2 separate regions of the Homo sapiens genome follow, and region 1 is linked to region 2. The links are contacts of gene promoters, found by promoter capture Hi-C in blood cells and fetal thymus (Javierre and others, 2016). All regions are on one chromosome and are shown on one strand. Each heading gives the region's core, a stretch centred on a gene start or on the middle of the fragment in contact. The rest is flanking DNA. Distances are from core to core; before and after follow the strand shown.

The links. Contacts are between HindIII fragments. The CHiCAGO score rates a contact against its expected background, and 5 or more counts as called.
Region 1: a fragment that was not itself captured here is called in contact with the fragment with the promoter of HENMT1 in region 2 in 1 of 17 cell types (naive CD8 T cells); the score reaches 5.2 in naive CD8 T cells.

What each region holds. Positions count from the first base shown.
Region 1 is chr1:108,750,058-108,754,772 of GRCh38, reverse strand. It overlaps STXBP3 (syntaxin binding protein 3), which reads right to left. Exons shown (of 19, transcript NM_007269.4): 2 at 2,467-2,516; 3 at 1,629-1,710. Among named protein-coding and RNA genes, the nearest start is that of STXBP3, 5.7 kb to the right of the region's middle. The HindIII fragment of the contact is 1,618 bases long and covers 1,683-3,300 here.
Region 2 is chr1:108,659,599-108,664,218 of GRCh38, reverse strand. HENMT1 (HEN methyltransferase 1) reads left to right here and starts at 3,126. Exons shown (of 8, transcript NM_001102592.2): 1 at 3,126-3,256; 2 at 4,257-4,355. The coding sequence starts at 4,335. RefSeq lists enhancers at 2,229-2,817, 2,818-3,407 and a silencer at 2,993-3,162. The HindIII fragment of the contact is 2,630 bases long and covers 2,062-4,620 here.

The DNA of each region.
Region 1 (4,715 bases), core at 1,242-3,741, 91 kb before region 2:
CTATCATTTTACCCAGGGGATCCACTTATACCTTGGCATATAAAGACTCTTAAGTCCTAAAGAAAGCTGTGGAGCTCTGTTTAATACTGTTTCCTAAATGTACTGGCCATGGAATCCCTTCCTTGAAGAATATCTATTAATAGTGAGCATACAGTAAGAAACAATGGTCTACAAAATGCAATAAAACCTCCCTACAGTGCATAATGGCTCTGCAGTTCCACAGAACTTTTATGTATTATCAAATGGTTCTCACCCTAGTTTCACATCAGAATGACCTTTCAGAACTTAAAAAACTTAAGTGGCTTAATCAATATTTCACTTATCCAGGAGTAGAAAAATCAAGGCTTCAATTTTCTAATTTCTAGTTTAGAGCTTTTTACATTGAGGGTCAGAAAGACCACAATTGAATATGTAATAAACAATAAAGGTTACTTTATGGCTGGGCATGGTGGCTTACACCTGTAATCCCAGCACTTTGGGAGGCCAAGGCAAGTGGATTACTTGAACCCAGGAGTTTGAGACCATCCTGGGCAACATGGTGAAACCCTGTTTCTATCCAAGAAAATATACAAATTAGCTGGGTGTGCTAGTGTGTGCCTGTAGTCCCAGCTACTTCGGAGACTGAGATGGGAGGATTGTTTGAACCCAGGAGGAGGAGGCTGCAGTGAGCCAAAATCGCACTACTGCACTCCAGCCTGGGTGACAGAGTGAGATCCTGTCTCAAAAAAAAAAAAAAAAAGATTATTTTATGTGTAAACATCAAAACATAAATATTATATGGTCAGACTTTCTTGAGAATACTGGGTATACTTTTGAACTTCATTAAGTTAGGAGTAACAGACGGTACATAAACTACATTAGGATCCAAAATATAAATGAATTATATTTCACTTGGAGCCTCAGATTCCTCATTACAAATGAGAGTATTTATCTGTCTTCATAGGGTTATTATGAAGATCAAATTTTAATAAGTGAGTTAAAGGATGATGAATTAAGAATAACATGATTATGCATGTTACAAGATATTGGTATTTTCCTCAATAGGTAATACAGATTAATATCTCAATAACATAATCCCGCCTAGAGGAAGATAACTTCTTATGACATTATGATTTTTTTTCAGAATCTGTAAGTATTTCAAATTTTCATACTAAAACTGATTTAAACTTATAATTATTTGTCTCATTTCTGGTAATAAAGATAAATTTACGAAGTCAGCATTATGCATTTGTAAACATGTACAACAGCTGATTTTATGACATAAATCTTGATATCCATTTTAAAGCGATATATGAAACCATAAACTAAATCAAAATACTGAAGTAAAGCTTGTGTATCAATATACAAAATTGTTTTATATATATATATGTATATATGAGTAAAACATTTAAAGAACAACCTCAACAAAGCAATTAAGTTAGGCTTGGTTAGAGGTCTTAATTATATGTCTCGGCTGAGGGAAAAAAACTGACAGAAGATTCAGAGAAAAGAATGTTAAATCTAATAGTTATGGCTACAGTAATTTAAAAAAATAAGCTCCTTAGAAACACAACTACTAACTAAAATTTAATACCTCAGATCTCCCCCAATTACAATTAAAAAGTGTTCATGCCAAGAATAACACTTACCAGTAATACCTTCTTCTAGAAGATCTGTCATTTTGCAACACGATGCCAAAAGCTTAGTGGTAAATTCATCTAAAAGCATTATCTTAAAACAAACACAAATTTAAAAATACTGTAAGCATCCTATTACCAAGAATGAAAAAAAGAATTTTATCCATTAAACTTTATAAGCCTTTTATAACACAAAATATCAGAACAGTAGGCAAAATGATCTCATCTTTTATCTTGCATGAGCTAGAGATTTTCTCAATATACATGCATATAGTATCGTACATAAGTAAACAAACAGAAATATTTCTAATTTGAAACATAGAGCTTATTCATTTTGAATGACACTGTTTAACATCAAATTTTCTTAAAATTACAATTGCCACTTGTAGAACAATTATTGCACAAAGCACTGTTTTAAGTAATTTCCATGGATTAATTCACCTCATATTTACAATTACCATATGAGGTATTACCATCACCATTTTTATAAACAAGGAAATGGGGCAGAGAGAGGTCAAGTAACTTGTGCAAGGAGCCACAGCTATTAAGTGGTGAAGTTAGTATTTGGAGCCAAGCAGTGTGATTCCAGACCCTATATAGTCATCCCTCGGTATCCATGGGGGTTCGAGGACCCCTGTGTATACCAAAAATCCATGGATGCTCAAATCTCTTATATAAAATAGTGTAGTGTTTGCATGTAACCTACACACATCCTCCCACATACGTCAAATTATCTTTAGATTACTTATACTAGAATACCTAATACCATGTAAATACTATGTAGTTTTTATACTGTATTGTTTTTAAAGTTTGTATTATTTTTTATAAGAGCAAGGTATGCAAACTCTACCTTCCATTCGCCTTCTTTCTTGCAGTCATCAAACACTGTTGCTTTTATCTCTGTTTAAAAAAGAAAGGAATTACTTAGGAATTAAATAAACAGAAACATAGTAATCCAAAGGGTCCAAAATGGCTAAGGAAAAATCCAATTTGAAATTTGTTAAACTACATAAAAAGCATACATATTTGTTAAACCTTACGGAAAAATCCAATTCTAATACCTAGCCTATACAGTACATTTAAACTGTAATCAATTTTTTAACTTTAAAAGGTATTATAAAAAGGGTTAATATATTTAAGTACATGAACGTACCGAGAAAATATTTCTAAAATTATTACCTGATTTGGTTTTTCCTATTCTACTTAAATCCCAAGTAAAACAAGATGAAAACAAAAAACCCACGGGAACATCCTTAAGTTGCCCATTGCTAAATTATATCTGATGATCAAATCTGCATAAACATTTTTCATACTGATTTACTACATTATGCTTTTCAACAATACATATCACAGCATTTGGATACCAATATTCAGTCTTGATTTATAATCAATAAATATGTTCCTTACAATGACTTTCAAAATTATCTAAATATGTTTTAAAAATTAGTTCACTGATTTAAAAACATTTTCCATTATGTATTAAATAATTCATGTGGACAATTTATACAAATATCTGTTCTACTTAATAAAACAATTTCCCACACTATGTTTTATTAATGTTCAATTGATTTTAAAATCGGTAGTAATACATAGTAATACATAAAATATAATTAAAATATAAATTATAGTAACCTATTTTTCATTAAATCTTATTAATGAGATGGTTATTTCATTAACTTAAGCTTTTCTATTTCCTAATTTATATTTAAGTTAATGCTTTTGGGAAATTTATCAACAAGTTTTTGGTAACAAGTCATGTTAAAAACTGACGGCTCTTCTATCAGAGGGTATAAATAATAACAGTTACTGTGGTACAATAAAAAATATTTGGTTTTTACCCCCTGTTCCTAGCACAGAGCCCCTAAAGACCTTGGAATCTCCTGAGTGATAGCATCTCTTCCGTCTGCAAATGAAATGACTCTTGGGTGAGGGGCCCCTATACAGCTTTAGATTGAGGGCTGGTCACCAGACCAAGCCATGTTTAGAGGGTTGGAACTTTCAGCCCCACCCCAGGACCTCTGGGAAAGAAGAGGGACTGGAGATTGAGTTCAATCACCAGTGATGTAATCATTCATGCTTATATAATGAAGCCTCCATAAAAACCCCTTAAGAGAGTTTGGAGAGCTCCCAAGGTGGTGAACAAACCATGTGCCAGGAGGGTGAGACACCCAACTCCATGTGGATAGAAGCACCTATGCTTAGGACCTTTTTTGACCTTACCCTATGTACCTCTCCAACCTGGCTGTTCATTTGTATCTTTTGTAATAAACTGGTAATAGTAAGTTAAGCGTTTTCTGAAGTTCTGTGAGCCATTCCAGCAAATTAATGAACCTGAAAGGGAAGGGAGGTTGTAGGAATTCCTGACTTTGTAGCCAAGACAGACAGAAGTGTGGGTAACCTAGGGACTTGGTACTGGCATTTGAAGTGAAGGCAGTATTGTGAGACTGAGCCCTTAAACCTGTGGAGTCTGACACTAACTAGTGTTCCTAGCTAACTAGTTCCTAACTAACTGGATATCCTACAATTCATTTCAATTCTGACACTAATACAGCTGGTGTCCAGAGTTGGAGAACTGGTTGGTGTGAGGGGGGAATAAAACACATATTTGGTGTCAGAAATGTTGTTAGTAAAAGCAATTCAGTTATTTATAGTCATTTTTAGAATTGTGATCTGGAAGGTTGTATTGTGATTGAGAAGATTTGGAAGTGTTATGAAATATCAATTGAGATAATTATATATTGTTTGCTAGGAGGATTATAGTGTTATATGAGAATTATGGTGAAAGTCCGAAATATTTAACCATAATTTAAGCCAAAAGCGCTGGCTTCTAGAACCCTACAGGCAAAAATAAAGGATTTTCTCCGGTAGAGCTCAGATACAGAAATATTATGCTGCTTTTCCTTTCAAAGCTAGCTTCATTCCTTATACCTCAAACAGCTGAAAATTGAAGACATTTGCTTGTTTTTATCAGATTTATTTGTGTCTTTCTCTTAAGAAATGAATGCTCATGGAATTTATGATGGAGCAGATTGGAGAAAAGCTCCCCAAGCAGAAGTCATCTCATTACAGTCTTTGAAACCTTAGAACTGCATTGTCCTA
Region 2 (4,620 bases), core at 1,877-4,376:
TAGTGAAACCCTGTCTCTACTAAAAATACAAAAATTAGCTGGGCATGGTGGTGCGTGACTGTAATCCCAGCTGCTCATGAGGCTGAGGCAGGAGAATCGCTTGAACCTGGGAAGTGGAGGTTGCAGTGAGCCGAGATCACGCCACTGCACTCCAGCCTGGGTGACAGAACCAGACTCCGTTTTAAAATATTAAAAAATATTTTAAATTTTGAAATTAATTTTTTGTTAGACAGGGTCTCACTCTGTTGCCCAGGGAGTGCAGTGACATGATCACAGCTCACTGCAGCCTCAAACTCCCAGGCTCAAGCGATCCTCCTGCCTCAGCCTCCTGAGTACCTAGGAGTACAGGTGCCCGCCAGCATGGCCAGATAATGTTTTTTTTCTTTGTAGAGACAGGTCTCGCTATGTTGCCCAGGCTGGTTTTGAACTCCTAGCCTCAAGCCATCCTCCTGCCTCAGCCTCCCAAACTGCTGGGATTACAGTCATGAGCCACCTCACTCAGCCCAGGATAACTCTTGATTACCTATTGTGTGCCAGACACCTACACCTGCTGGACTGTAAAAGCTATGAAAGGATCTTTATCTGTCTTTTAAATTCAAACAAGTACTTGATCCATAATAAATACTCTATACACATTTACCAAATAAGTAATCATTTCTCATTTTTTAACTTAAAAAAACCCCCTAACACTCAGAGAGGATGCAACTTCCAAAGGTTATGCAGTAATAGTAAAATCTGGATTTAAGGCCTATTTGACTTAAAATCCACTCTAAAAGACGTTACATGGTCTATAACTCAGTAGGACTTACCTTGTGTACGAAGGAAAGATGAGTTATAATGACAAAATGAGATGACAAGGCTAAGCTATTAGCTGTGGGAAGGAACAGATGGTAGATGACAGCTTGAAGAAGTCAAAATTTGGTGATTGTCCAAGTGTGGGAAGGACAAAAATGGACAGAGCCAAGGATGATTTTTCAGACTCTAATAAGAGTAGGAGGCCAGGAGAATGATGAAATAGGCAAATTTGGAGAGGGAATGGACATGAGGAGCTCAAGTTCATAAATGGGCTAACCAGCAGGGGAGGCAAAAACCCTAGATCCAGGAATGCTGTATAGATGATAGCTTTTATGTTTTCCTTAAAATTTTTGAAACTGTGGTAAATATACATAAAACCACTTTAACAATTTTTAAGTTCAGTGGCATTCAGTGCAACCATCCTATCTACAAAACTTTTCCATCACCCATTAAACAACTCTCAATTCCCTCCTCCTCTCAGCCCGTAGCAACCACCATTCTACTTTGTCTCTATGAATTTGGCTACTCTAGGTACCTGATATAAATTGAATCATGCAGTATTTGTCCTTCCGTGACTGATTATATATCACTCAGCATATCATCATCAAGATTCATCCATGTGGCAGCAAATGTCAGAATTTCACTCCTTTTAAAGGTTGATTTTCCTGAAACTCTGATTGGAAAAATAAAGGCTGAATATTCCATTGTATGTATATCACATTTTGTTTATTCATCCTTTAATGGACATTTGGGTTGTTTCCACATTTTGGCTACTGTGAATAATGCTGTTACGAACTTTGGTGTACAAATACCTGTTTGAATTCCTGCTTTGAGTATATACCCAGAAGTGAATTTATTATTTAAACATTCTATTTTAAATTACATCCTGTAGTAAGGTGTACACTCCTTTAATGAAGTCTGCTAAAACTAGTTTCCCCAAGTCAACAGGAACCTCTCAAACTGTAATGTGAAATTATCACTGAGTGTTTTTTCTTTTTAGACATGGTCTGGTTCTGTCGCCCAGACTGGAGTGCAGTGGTGCAATCATAGCTCACTGCAGGCTCAGATTCCTGGGGTCAAGTGATCCTCCGGCCTCAGCCTCCCAAACAGTTGGGACCACAGGCAGGCACCACCATGCCCAGCTAATTTCTTTTTTTTTTTGGTAGAGACGGGGTCTCACACTCCGGGGCTCAAGTGATCCCCCAAAGTGCTGGGATTACAGGCGGAAGCCACGGTGCCGGGCCTTATGATTGAATTTTTGAAGCTTATTGTTAGTTATGTACTTCTTTACCTATGACACTAGACTCCCCAAAATGCCAAAAACAAGATTGGTGTAATTTATCATTGTGGTACCCTTAAGCTGTCAGCATAGTGCTTTGCATACAGCAGGCGTTAAATGTTTGAAAATACAGTTCCAATATATCATTTGTGGCATATTAATAGGCTATTAATTCAGTAGCAAAAACACCAGCTTTTGCATCTTTCAAAATATAAGTCAATCTTTTTTCCCTAAAGAAGGCAGCTTCGTCCCTCCCCTCACCCCCCTAATACTCTTCCATCATATACAGGAAAGAAAGTACTTATATATATTAAGTGGAGTCTCCAGAGGGAAGGATGGCAGGATACAATAACTTTTCCAAGAGATCAACAGTTCTATCCACAACACTCGGGGAAAACTATTTCGGGGGTCGGGTGGCGGTGGAGAGGGGGCGTTGGGAGCGGAAAGAACGTTTTTCTGAACGCAGGTGTCACTGGGCCAACTTCACCCAGCCTACATTCCTTTAAGGCCCCCGTGGACTGCTCTGGGATGAAAGCGGAGGCTGACTGGGACTCCAGCCGCCGGCCGCCTCGCGTGGAGCCTTGCTGCTCCTCTTGCCGCCTTCCGCTGGCCAGGACCGTTTTTAGGCCTTTGCCACGCCTCGGGAGCGCCACGAACTCAACAGCCGCCCAAGCCGCCTTCCGGCTCGCGGTCTGCGGACGCGCTCGGAGTTGGGGGCCTTCGCCAACAGCTGCCGTACCGTGCCGCGTCGCAGCCGCACGCTAGCGGGGTCAACGGCGCGGCAGGCGCAGGGGTCCTCGCCAAGGTTCGGAAGAGGACCTTGAAAATGGCTTCTGGGCATGCGCCACAGCGGCCGTTACGAGACGCAAAACCGACGCCTTGGAACTGAGAGCCTAGAGGGACGGAGCTCGGCGCACCATGAGGCTCCCGGGGCCCAAGGCCGACCGTGAGAGCGCACGAGGTTGGCGAGCCCCGCGGGGAGGCCGAGGCGCGGGTGCGGGCGCCGGCGTAGCCGCGGCGGTAGCGTCACGCAGCGAGGCCGTGCGTGCGCGGGCGTCAGGGCGGCGCTGAGTTGAGGACGCTGGCGGCTCCGCGACGAGCTTTGTTTTTTCGGTTGGGCATGCTGCTTACCGCAGGATGATGGAAGCGACGGCCCGTACAAAGACAGAAGCGTTGGTTTCAGTGAGCAGGGTTTCTTTTTCTTTTTCTTTTTTTTTTTTTGAGACGGAGTCTCGCTCTGTCGCCCAGGCTGGAGTGCAGTGGCGGGATCTCGGCTCACTGCAAGCTCCGCCTCCCGGGTTCATGCCATTCTCCTGCCTCAGCCTCCCAAGTAGCTGGGACTACAGGCGCCCGCCACTACGCCCGGCTAATTTTTTGTATTTTTAGTAGAGACGGGGTTTCACCGTTTTAGCCGGGATGGTCTCGATCTCCTGACCTCGTGATCCGCCCGCCTCGGCCTCCCAAAGTGCTGGGATTACAGGCGTGAGCCACCGCGCCCGGCCAGGGTTTCTTAATACAAGTTGGTGACTAACATGTTGCCTAGATTCCAGATTAAAGTCTAGTTGTTGGAGACACATGTGCAATAGAGAACTAAAATTTAAATTCAAGTTCGTGAGTGAATTGAATAGATGTTGGAGCATCTCTAGTTTATCAAGGACACTTTTTTTCCCCCTCGAAATTTCATTTTGACGATGTGTGGAAAAATTTTTGAAAAAATTTGAAGTTGAGGGTCTTAGCAATGAAATGGGCAGAACTCCTAAGATTGCTCCGTTTGTATCTAGTTGAACTATTCATGATAGTAAAGGGAAAGGATGGCTGTTTTCGCTCTTAGTAGGGTTTGACGTAGTGAAAAGTTACGCTTTCTGAGCCTGTTTGCGAATGTCTGAAAAAATACTGGATACATTCTGTGGATTAAATGGTAGTCCACATTTAATCCACAGATTGGCTATTGTGAATAATGCTATGAACTTCGGTGTATAAATATCTGTTCGAGTCCTGCTTTCGTGTTTTTTTTTTTTTTTTTGAGTACTCAGAGGTGAATTCATTATTTACTTTTAAGCGTTCTATTTAAATTATATACTGTAGTAAGGAGTAAGAAAGAGGCTTTCGTTCTTCCCTTCTGAACTAGGCAGCTATTTCTTTCAGGTATCGCTTTACAAAAACGGTTTTGTATTTATTACAGCTGAGTCAGTGCTGATTCTCTCAAATAGAGCTTGAAGGATAAATCTTCATTTTTGTTTCAACAAAACTTCGAAACAAAATGGAAGAAAATAATCTACAGGTAATGCCACCCTTCTTAGCTGCGTCTTTGACTCTTAAGAATTATCACCTGGATGTATTGTGAGATAATTGCAAACAAAATTGATCACATTTAGGTCCTAGCATTTCCCGGGGTGTTGGTTGAGGTAAACAAGGGTATACATAGATGAAAGAGTCACATTTGGTGTATGTAAGTAAAATAAATGTTTTTACTTTTATCACTAGGTGTTAAAGTAGCAAAATCTATTTTAAAAACACTCTAAGTAGTGTTCCCCAATGTGGTTGTG